3 separate regions of the Homo sapiens genome follow, and regions 1 and 2 are each linked to region 3. The links are contacts of gene promoters, found by promoter capture Hi-C in blood cells and fetal thymus (Javierre and others, 2016). All regions are on one chromosome and are shown on one strand. The core of a region is centred on a gene start or on the middle of the fragment in contact, and the rest is flanking DNA. Distances in the headings are between cores, read along the strand shown.

The links. The method cuts DNA at HindIII sites, captures the fragments that hold promoters and counts their contacts. A CHiCAGO score of 5 or more calls a contact.
Region 1: a contact is called between a fragment that was not itself captured here and the fragment with the promoter of ADAMTSL1 in region 3, in 1 of 17 cell types (endothelial precursors). The highest score is 6.3, in endothelial precursors.
Region 2: a fragment that was not itself captured here is called in contact with the fragment with the promoter of ADAMTSL1 in region 3 in 1 of 17 cell types (endothelial precursors); the score reaches 7.2 in endothelial precursors.

The regions. Positions count from the first base shown.
Region 1 is chr9:18,817,683-18,821,575 of GRCh38, forward strand. The region is part of intron 21 of ADAMTSL1 (ADAMTS like 1); the gene reads left to right. Among named protein-coding and RNA genes, the nearest start is that of SAXO1, 210 kb to the right of the region's middle. The HindIII fragment of the contact is 2,896 bases long and covers 1,178-3,893 here.
Region 2 is chr9:18,784,992-18,788,900 of GRCh38, forward strand. The region is part of intron 19 of ADAMTSL1 (ADAMTS like 1); the gene reads left to right. Among named protein-coding and RNA genes, the nearest start is that of MIR3152, 210 kb to the left of the region's middle. The HindIII fragment of the contact is 619 bases long and covers 1,059-1,677 here.
Region 3 is chr9:18,472,141-18,476,196 of GRCh38, forward strand. ADAMTSL1 (ADAMTS like 1) reads left to right here and starts at 2,013. Exons shown (of 29, transcript NM_001040272.6): 1 at 2,013-2,155. The coding sequence starts at 2,093. The HindIII fragment of the contact is 3,309 bases long and covers 864-4,056 here.

The DNA of each region.
Region 1 (3,893 bases), core at 1,376-3,875, 350 kb after region 3:
GCCACCAGCATTGAAGAAAATGGATTGAGAAGGGAAATACTAGGACAGAAAGGCCAAGTAAGACCCATCACTGTAGTTTAGAGGAGAAGTCATGGAGGCCTGAACTCAGGGCAGTGAGGATGGGAAGGTAACGACTGGATGGACATGAGAAAGATGGCAAGAGGTAAGACCAACAGCAGCGTGGAGCTTGCTCGAATCAGAAGTGGGCAGGAGTTATTAGAGAAGATAGCCAGTGGAGTTCTGATACAGGCATTGCTCTCAGGTGGGCCTTGCAAACTCAGAGGTCAACAGGGACCAGGAAGGCACAGTGAAGCAAGGAGTAGTAGACAAGAGGGGGTGGTAATATGCTCTGTATAAAAATATTTACCTTCAATTAAAAGACAGAAAACACCTACATATAGCAGAATGAGGCCCAGCTACTATTTTTCCCTTCATGTAGACCACTCATTTGTCATGTGTGCCCTAGGGGTTTCACTGCCACAATGGGATGAAGAAATGAATGGTTCTTGTGCCATTGGGCAACTAGTCTTCTGATTGCTGTCCTCATCAGATATACCCCACAGTGGCATGGCCACACCAAACCCAGGTTCCCCGATCATACCCTGTCTGCAGAGTAGATAGGCAGTGGCACCCCCATGCTTTGGTGGTTGCTTCATCTTAGATCTTCATCATATGAAGGTTTACCTCAATTTGTTACTTATAAGACATGAAAACCCATTTTAGAGTAAGTAGGAGGAATATCTTAACCTAGGGCTTACTGTTTCCGAATAACAGCCAAGTCTGATTTTCTCTGAAATATTCTGATAGCTTTAGGCTATCTGAAATATGGCCAGACCTGGTGGCTCACGCCTGTAATCTCAGCACTTTGGGAAGCTGAGGTGGGCAGATTACTTGAGCCCTGGAGTTGAAGACCAGCCTAGGCAACATGGCAAAACCTTGTCTCTACAAAAAAATACAAAAATTAGCCATGTGTGGTGACGCATGCCTATAGTCTCAGCTGAGGGAGGCTGAGATGGGAGGATCGTTTGAGCCCAGAGGTCAAGGCTGCAGTGAGCCATGGGCATGCCACAGCACTCCAGCCTGGGTGACAGAGCGAGACCCTATCTCAAAAAAAAAAATTAGGATATCTGAAATATAAATATATCTTTGTAAGTGTGCATTAGCTTTGCCTTTGTAAAGCTTCTCATGGCCTTTGTGATGTTTCCCTTCCAGCCTCATCAGTGAAATCTAGAACCAAGTCCCTTCAGCCCCTGTACTCCTAGATAGGGAGTAAGACAAAACCCCTGACAGGGGTTGGCATGAATGAGCTACCCCTCTGTGCAGGGATTAATGGTGGTGCCAGTAGAGCCCTTTCTGCAGAACCATCACCCCTCAACACACACCTGATCACTATGGACACATGCTTTGGCGATGAAACACTGGTGATATGATGGACCATGTTGTGTATCTTCTTGAGAGGTGGAACTGGTAGGAGTAAAAGAATAGGGGAGGGGCCAGGCATGGGGACTCACACCTGTAATCACAGCACTTTGGGGGGCCAAGGTGGGTGGATCACCTGAGGTCAGGAGTTTGAGACCAGCCTGGCCAACATGGTGAAACCCTATCTCTACTAAAATTACAAAAATTAGCCAGGCATGGTGGCAAGTGCCTGTAATCACAGCTACTCAGGAGGCTGAGGCATGAGAGTCACTTGAACCTAGGAAGCAGAGATTGCAGTGAGCCGAGATCGAACCACTGCACTCCAGCCTGGGCAATAGAGCAAGACTCTGTCTCAAAAAAAAAAAAAAAATAGGGGAGGAAAGTGCAGCAAAACAAGGAAATGGGCATTTAAAGGAGATTGAGAGGACCAGAATCTGGTTGAGGAAGTATTTACGTTGGGGAGCCTAAGATATTAAAACGAGCTTTGGCCACTCTATTGTGCCGCCTAGGGCCCTCTCTCTGGGACTTCATCCAGAGGCTCACTTGATAACCTTATAGTGAGAACCTGATATACCTAGTTTTCCCTGGCTATGACATTGCAGTCTTTATTTTTGTTTTTATCCATAAAACCATCTGTATTAATGCTGATTAACTAAAATAATTATTTGTATATTTGTCCTTATTCCTCTTGTTAAACAAGATACTCATTCAAAGTAGGTGGGAAAGAGCCTGCTTATAATTACACAGTGAATTTGCTGGACAAGGAAATCATCTGTGAGCTTAGTCTCCAGTTAAAACACTGACAGCTATAATGCTAAATGCCAAATGGCAGAGGATTACTTTTACTTTGCTGCTATAAGCAGCTCTTAAGGCTCTTTCCTTACTCTTGGTCACCTCTATCCCATTCCCAGTCAGGCAGCTTAGTGACCTCCTGATTGGTTAGGTGGGATTCTCTAAGCACCAATAACACTGCCAGTAGGTAATACTCTAGCTTGAGAATTTGCAACCCAGATTCTCGTAATAGACAGGGAAGAGGGACTCCATAAGGGCCTGCTTAAAGCAGTATTTTATGTCATATTCATTCATGTTATTCATTTAGCAGTTTTTTATGGAGTATTTAATCCAGGTTAGATCAAATTTCTCCTAATCCAAGGAGCCACAGATAAACAAGATACAATTTTCAGGAAGCTCACAGTCTGGGAAGGAGAAAAGTTATGAAATATGTAATGATAATACAATGTGATATGTAGATACGGTTGTTGTTTTCTTATTATAAAATATTAGAGTATTAAAGAAATTTTAGAAAACACAGAAAAATTTAAGAGTCCAAAAAGGAAAGAAAACAGCTTGTTCAAAGTCGTTCTCTCCAAACTCAACCACAGCTGACATTTTATTAATTTCCTTAATGATTCCCTTTTATCCTGCTTTATTTCCTCTCAGTAATAAACATTTGTCTGTGTCATAAGCATAATTTTAATGGCTATATAATAGCCTATATTAAGAATATTATGTAATTTACCTAGACCAACTCACATGTTTGAATTGTTAGCAGTTTTTCATTAAACAACTTTTTGCGTACATGTGCTTTCAGCTTACAAAATGCAGCCTCACATTCTTCCCAATCCTGAAGCATCAACAGCATTAGGCAATGAGTATGATAGGCTTTTTCTTGAAAAGTGACCTAATCCACTGTATCACTCCCATGCTTGTTCTCTATTTGTTCTCTGAAGAGGTCAGAAAACTGAGTCGGCGATAAAGGATCAGGGGAAGAAGCAGTGTTTCAGTAAATGGGAACAGAATGTGCAAAGGGCCTGAGGTAGAAAGAGCATGCTGCATTTAAAGAAGTAAAACCTGGCTGGTGGTGTGGCTATAATATCAAGAGCAGAGAAGAAAGTAGCATATGAGGCTGAGGAGGTGTGGGTAGGCAGGGGCTAGATCTTACATGTTCTCATAGATTATGGTACAGTTTAGGTTTTTCTCCTAAAAGCAAAGGAAGTATTTGAAGGACTTACTTAGGAGATAAAATCAGCAGGACTAAGGATGCAGAAATAGTTCAAGAGTCAGTGATGGGTGGTGTATTAGGATAGATTAGACTCTGGTATCAAGTAGACCCCCAAATGTATAATGGCTCAAATACAATAGAAGGTTTATTTTTGCTTATCTAAGAGCCCAAAGAGTACACCTGGTCATCTGGAGAGGATCTGCCCCCACAGTGTCATGCAGGGTCACAGGATGCTGGTGGGTCTGACATCTGGAACACATGCCTTCCAAGGTCTCCATAGGGGTTACCTCTATCCTATCAACCAGGAGAGGGGAAAACAGAATACGGAGGATGGTTGAGAAGGCTTTTAAGGGCCACGCCTGGAAGGAGCATACATTAAGACTTTTCACAATCCTTTAGTCACATGGCCACGCACAACTACAAAGGATGCTGGGGAAGGTAGGCTCACTGGGTACTCAGGAAAAAGAGGGAA
Region 2 (3,909 bases), core at 118-2,617, 310 kb after region 3:
TGTCTCTACTAAAAATACAAAAATTAGCTGGGCATGGTGGTGCATGCCTATAGTCCCAGCTACTTGGGAGGCTGAGACAGGAGAATCGCTTGAACGCAGGAGGTGGAGGTTGCAGTGAGCTGGTATCGTGCCACTGCATTCTGGCCTGGGTGACACAGTGAGACTCCGTCTAAAAAAAAAAAAACTTAATGGAGCTGGGATTTGAATCCAAGGCAGTCTGGCTTTTGGAACTATTTCTTTTTATTGATTATAACCTTAGTTGAATACAGGGACTTGCCACTGTTTTATAAGAAGGCCACTGGGGTCAACTAGACCCAGCATAAATTAACATTCAATATTCTAGCCAACTGGCTTCCAGCTGATGAGGCTTTTGTTTTTATTTTGGCATAACTGCTTTAAAGATAGCCTTTTCTTCTACTGATAGCGCTACCTTTATATATACACATGTGTATGCAAATATGCACTAAATTAGGCACTCAATAAACATTACAATTGCTACATTTGTGTGTGTCTGTGACTGCACATGTTTACAGTGTTGATGGCTCAGGCACATGTGTGGTTAGAGACCTAGACCACAGGCAATATGAAGCTAAACTGTTCCTCGCTTTCAGTCATTCTATATAAACACTGAGCACACATTTGGAGATGAGACTCAGGCAAAAGCTAACTCCAGTCTGCTTTTGGATAGAGTATAACACCCCTAGCCAAAGAACCTGGTAAATTTTCCTTCTCTACATCTAATACCAGGAGGCTTACGTAATATGGACAAATATATGTTCAGTATTCCTACGTCTAAATCCAGTTCTAGAAACAATACCTGGAAGGGCAGTGCTGACTTCCTTGTAGAAGAGCCAGATTCTCCAAAATTGGCACTGCACATTGGATTACCAAATTAGGAAAAATTACTGGATGAGGATTGATCATTCCCCCAAGAAACACCTACATACTGCTGATAGCACCACACTGTCAGGGAAGGCCTTGCTTACCACTTAACACTATTGAACCAGGAGTAACCCAAAATCACAGATTCCTCATAGCTCAGCTGATTTAAGTCTGTAAGCTTTTAAGTAAGACTTTCTTTTCTTTTCAAAAGGAATGCAAGTGAACTTAAAGAATAATATGAAACTAGATGCTTGAAGAAAATACTTATTTCTTCCTGTGGGTGGGAGGTCACTCCCAGGTGATACTCCTACTAACATGGAATCCTAGGGAAATGGCTAAGTCTAAGGAATTTCAGCCTTTTAATCCCTAAGCCTGTTCCCTGTTTTCCTTCTCTTCTGGGCCTAGGTGTTCCCAGCTTATCCTCCCCAACCCCTTCAGCCAGAGGAGCAACCTGATGGCACATCAGTTAACACAAAGGGCAGCCCACGGTGGTAGGAGACAGTAAGGCTGGAATCAGAGCAACTTTGGCACAAATCCCAGTTCTGCCACTTAGTATTGTGAGTCTACTTTTATCTCTCTGAACCTTGGTTTTCTTATTAGTTAAACTAAAATGATACTAGTACAATTAGGCACTTTGATTCTGCCCTTCGGACTAGCAGAAGTGCAAAGAACAGAAATAATGTCTGTAACGTGCCTGACACACAGTGGATACTCATTTGCCAGTATCCAAAATCATTGTCATTTAGACATGGGGCCATTGTATCACACTGTCTTCCAGGACATCTCAAACTAAGAAGCTTCACTCTTATTTGAGGAACATCTAGGTAGTTGTTCAAAGAGTTGGGTTAGCAAGGTTTCTAGGAAAACAGCGTGATGGAGAATTATCAGCCTAAATCCAGGCATCATGAGGGGATGTTGATATTCTACTGACATTCTTTGCTATCATCTCTGAGCTGATAGGAAAGTGAAATCTGTAGCCTCTAAATGATTATATTTCCCAGAAAGTTTTGTACAGTGTTCCAAAGTGGTGCTGAATAGGAGATGAATTAAGGCATATTTGGAAGTCTTTAACTTGGGCAACTCAGAGTATCAGCAGATGGAAACTTCTCAGAATGGAAGTGAAGATCAGATGGGAAATTCCTCCAGGGTCAATTTCAGAACCATAGTTGTGAATAATTCTCTATGTACAAGTCATAAGCACATGAAATGCAGTTTCCAAGTTTGCAGATAATATAAAAACTAGAGGCAGGGAAGATAGGGAAGGAAAAACAAGCCCATTTCAGTTTGGTTTGGCTTGTTTCCCTTATAGAGCTAAAGGAAATGGAGATGACAAATGTTTTTCCCAGTTGAAAAGTGTAAGAATAGCAAGCCAGAGAAAAAGAACCGTCCCAGTAAATACATAAGCCTCACAAAAGAAAAGTATTGAGTGTCAACACAGTGGTCGCAGAAATGACCATCATGAATCATGCAGGTGAAGAGCACTGGAGGATAGTAGACAACCAGTGGCAAACAGACAGTACTAGTGAGGCTTAGAGTCAGGCACTATCTATTCCCTGAAATGCTAGGGGATCTCCAGAGATCCCCCTAGCAGTTAGTTTACTCTTCCTGGAAGAGTGGTCCTAGCACATGGCAGAGTTCCAGAAAAGTGGTTAACTGTTTTAGTATAAATAAGGATGTCACTGAGATAAACCAGAAATGAAAATTTTTCCATGTTATATGCCAGAAGTCAGCAAACTTTTCTAGTAAAGGGCCAAATAGTAAACATTTTAGGATTTGCAGGCATCAGGAGTAAGGAATGACCTTTGACTGTTCTTAAACTGACTATACTCAACTCTGTCATTATAGTGTGAGAGCAGCCATAGATAATACTTTAATCTATATGCTAGTTTTCCAATAAAACTTTATTTATAAAAGCAAGTGGTAATTGGCTGCAGTTTGAGGACCCCTATCCCTAGTGGATAGGAAATCCAGTCAGTCATTTCATGCAGAGGTTTGTAATTTGAAATGAGTTACCCAGCAAGCAGATAAAATACACATATTAGCAAATTCAAGACTCTATGAACTTCTGAAAGAGAAGGAAGTTAAAGGGTCTGGCAAAAAGAAGAAGACCAGGGTTAAGAATGTGTGGTCAGGTGGCCTTTCCCATTCCTAAAATATTTTCTATACTTCCATCTGAGCAATCATGAAGCTTCTGGCATTAAATAACTTTTAGTTGGCAATTACATTAAAAACAGCAAAGGTTAAAAAAAGTTGCCCTAGCCAAATGGTGATATGAAACTCTTCATGAACCTCAAATCTGTTGCCCAAAATTTTTGTACAAAATAAAATTCTCCCTTGCAAGCCTCTGGGCTACTGTAATTTTTGGTTTCAGAAAAATAATCCTGCTCACGGAGGAGATCTCAGAGCATTCCTTTTGCCTCCCGTTTGAAAGTATCTAAAATCCAGAATATTTTTTAGTGATTGTCTATTTCCCTAAGTAACTACAAACCTTGACGTTAATTACCCCCCCGCCCCGCCCCCGCAACCACCGAAAATGAGGCCAAACCATATGCCTGCCAACTAGGCCCCGGTAGATTCCTGGATGCTGTCAGTTTAAGAACAGTCAAAGGTTATTCCTTACTCCTGATGCCACCATGTACTAGCTGAGCAAATTGCTTCTGTGAACTTTTGCCTGCTCTCTAAAATGGGAAAATAACATCAATCTAGTAACATGGTAGTAAGGATTCAATAATAAAAAGCATATACATTTGCCTATAAATACTAGCACCCGCTCCCGCTTTGTGGTAGATTCCATTATCCTAATCTAAGGAATCCCTAAGCAGAAAAATACCCATTTTAGGATAAGGAAAAGACTTCACCATCTGGTCCTATAAATAGGAATTTGGGGCTAATGTTATTTGCACAAACTTTGCTTACTTGCTCCTGAGTTCACTGTTTTCCAGCTCTAACTCATTTGCTCTTGTTTGTATTCCTTTCTGAAATTGCAGAATTCTGGCTTTTTTTTTTTTAGTGTTCTAAAATTTCAGT
Region 3 (4,056 bases), core at 763-3,262:
ATAGGAGGGAAAAAAATAAACCCTTTAGCAGAAAGCTCTGGTGTGTAACAGAGAGACACATGTAACATAGCTTTATGAATGAAAGTTTATTTCAATCAATCACCTTTCTTTAATGTGATGAGGATTTCAGACAAAAACAATAGTGGAAAGACAAAGTTAAGCATTTTTACATCTACTTGTGAATACGCTTTAGCTTATGAGCATTAGCTAGTTTTTGAGAGATTTGTAAAACAAATCTTTCTAAAAGGGAAAAGCATATTTCAAGAATGGGCTCTCTTTGTTATGGATTTGTACTGTCCATTTTTCTAGGTCCACATACTTAATATTGAGAACAAAGGATAATCTTTGTATGACCTTGACTTTCCTAACAGCATGAAAATAGGATTTTTAAAGTTTCTCTCTCTTTAATTGATATACCATATGAAGTAGGTAACCTAAAGTTGAACAACCTGCTTTTCTTCACCTTTTTGAAAAGCAACGCAGCAGGTATGTACATAGGCAGACCTGCCTGTATTCACATGCCCATTATGGCTTGATCAGGTTTTCCATATTCGTGTGTTTCATACCTCTTGTCAGTATTTTTTAATAATGAAAGGAAAGAACATTAATTCTAAATGTCTTGTACCTCCACTGCATATATTTCTGGGCTATCAGGAGATCTGAAAAGGGAAAACGTCCTGATGACACACCTATGGCAATGTAAGGCCAGGGCTGCTCTTTTATTCTTTCAAAACTCAATGATTTCCTTTGCAGATAAGGGGAAATACATCCTTGTTTGACATTTGACACTTTTCTAAAACTGTAATAAAACCTTCCTCTAGTAGAGTCAAATCTCCCTTGCTGGTGGATTAAGCAGCTTCAGAAGCTTCCTGACCTTCTCGTTGCTGTTGCTGGCCTTGTCGTCATTTCACTGCTCATTAGCACTTCCTTCAGGGCTGGACTGGCCTCCAAGGTCATCCCATCCAACCCTCTTGCAATAGTGGATGGAAAAATGAGGTAAAACTCAGTTCAGCCTTTTCTGCATTATAACAGCTCTGATAAAGGACGTGGGTGAGGTGCGGAGGAAGCTGAAACTTGGTTAAAAGAAGGTTTGGGGATTAACTGAGGATTTAATTCATCCTTTCTTTCTCTCCCGTGGCTAAAATAGATAGTTGAGAGTTGGCAGTGCATCAAAACCAGGCTGCTCCTCAACCCCAAATTTCAGCCCCACTCATCCTGGAGTCTTTGTTGAGGGTTTCTTTTTAAACTGGGGGATCTAAGTTTCTAATTGTGCCTTTACAATTAGCAAATCTTAAATGCCTTCAATTGTCACTTTACAGAGAAGCAACTTGCTTTGTTTTTTTCCCCCCAAATTAAGTCCTTAATAACACAAAATAACTTATGCCACTGTTTAGGCTTAGTGAGGAACCTTCAGAAAATGTATAGAGTATTTATTTTGCAAGTCAAGAGAGAAAGTAAAGAGGAACTTTATGGAGGCGAAATAAAACAGTTGTACAGAACACATTTACAGGGCACATTAAGTCGGTTTTTGTCTATGGTTCTTTCCCTTTATGGCATATGTTATATATTGACAGGGATTAAGTTTCTCTCCTGAATGGAACAATACACAGTCACAGGGAGCTACTGTACTTTACAAAGCAACAGACATCAGCACAGGCAAATGGCAAATAGAAATGCATCTCACAAAGAACTAACCAGGTCCATGGGAAGCACAGTGCTTGGCTTCATCTTTTGCAATTCTGCATCTTTTGCATTTCCCTTCTCGCTCTGCTGCTCGCTCGCCTTTCTTTTTCGTCCTTTTCCCCCTTTTTTGCTCGCACCGTTACACTTTCTCTGTCCTCCTGGCTTTGTTATTCAGCATGTCTGATTAGCAGGAGCCTGATTGGCTGGCTGCCTGCTCCGAGAGAGATTCCATTCAGCTTACCCCCCACCCATCCACCCACCCACCCCTCGGTCAGGAAATGTGAGAGGGGCTGATGGAAGCTGATAGGCAGGACTGGAGTGTTAGCACCAGTACTGGATGTGACAGCAGGCAGAGGAGCACTTAGCAGCTTATTCAGTGTCCGATTCTGATTCCGGCAAGGATCCAAGCATGGAATGCTGCCGTCGGGCAACTCCTGGCACACTGCTCCTCTTTCTGGCTTTCCTGCTCCTGGTAAATGCCTTTTCATTTCAATGCATTGCTATTGCCATTGAGTCTGGGTGCTGTTGGGGGTGTGTGTGTGTATGTGTGTTTGTGTGTGTGTGTGTGTCTTTATCTTAAAACTCCAGGTAAAATAATTTACACGATTACAAAGAGAGAATACTCCTTCTAGAACTTTTAACCTCAACTTCCCAAGCAAGATAAAGTCTGCAAGACTTTCTGGAATTAGTTACTGCTATACAGTAATACTGATACTGAGACATGAACTTTGGGACATACTGCATGGAGTTTGGGAGCTGAGGACTGTATATATGGTGGTGTGTATGCTTGGAATTTGGATAACAGACATCCTGAAATTAAACTCACTCACTGTGGTGTTCCTGGAATTTTTTGATGGATAGGCTTTGCAGAGCTTGCCCGTACCGCCTTTAATGAATTACTTTCCATCTATGCACATGTACTATGGAACCAGGTAAAGAGGGGAATGAGAGCCTCTTTGCAGCCAACCCAGATTATGGCTCTTAATTACTGCAAGTCATTTATGGATAGAAGTTAATGCTAGGATTTATGAATTGAGGATTATGGCCTTTGATCTCAAATTTACTTTTAAAGAAGAAAAAGGAATGGTGACTTTTAGTACGGCTGATTGCCACAGTCATAGTGATAAGATGCTCTGCTCTTGAACGTCAGTACACATTGCATTTTTGACTCGAAGTAAATGTTCCGTTGTGACTCATACTTGGTTTTATGGGCAGAAAATGAACATTTACTGTCCAAAATAAATCTACACTCAAAATATTAATAGCAATGCACATTTTTTAAACCAGAGTGTTCTGGGCAGGCAGCTTAGTAAACCTCATCTGAAGGTTTGATTCCAAAATTTGCACACACTGATCCAAACAAATGTGATTGTAGTTTTTCCTGTCACATTTATAACATGCCAGAACTTCCTCAGAAGGTAACAAGGCAGGAAGAGAACAAGGTAAAAATGTAGCAAATGAATAGGTTGCATTGATTCCTTGATGGGGAAGGAATGTTTGTTCTGATTATATTCTGACAAATCTGATCTGCGCTATAATTTTGAAGTAGGGAAGAAAGCCATTTGGTACAAACTGAAAAAGTCCAGGAGATTCATCAAATAGAGTAATCAGACAGTGATTCAATATTTTATACATTCCCACTTCTTAATGATTTGCATCATTGTAGCTAAGAAATTATAATGCTGCATTGCAAGTGCTATAAATATAGAAATAAATTTTTAATTTTTCATAGAAATTTAAAGGTAAACTACATTTCAAGCATGAATGAACTATAAGTTTTAGCTGTTCTGAAAAATACAAAGAACAGAATGTTTAGGTATGCTTTATGACTTGTGGAGCAAGCGATTTATGAAAGGTGTCTCATTTTTTCCATATGGGATGTGTTACTTGTATACACCATTAGTTTGTCTCATCTTTCCTTCTTTGTGATTTTTTTAAGTGTGTGTTATTTTCCCATTATATTGCATCATAAAGCAAATTACCAGTATACATTACTTTTTTGATATTTTCATATGGAAGTATGATCTCATTATACTTTAGTAAAACTTTCCCATTCAGGAATAGATTGTTTTGCTATCCATTTGGTAAACGCATTATATCCCTCTGTGATATCTTGAATATTCATATATGTATTAGAGCATATAATTTGACTTATGTGGAATGAAAAGGTATGTATGCTTATTTCAGAAGGACTTAAAACATATCATATTTAAATTACAATAATTGTATTATAAAGATAAAATTAAAACAAACCTAGGTTTGTTTTATGCCTGCATTTAAATTAAGTGGAAATCTGAGAGTTATGCTACAAAAGGAAGAACTGACTGATGTTTACATACATCCCTTTGCCAAGCAATAACAGCATTAGTAATA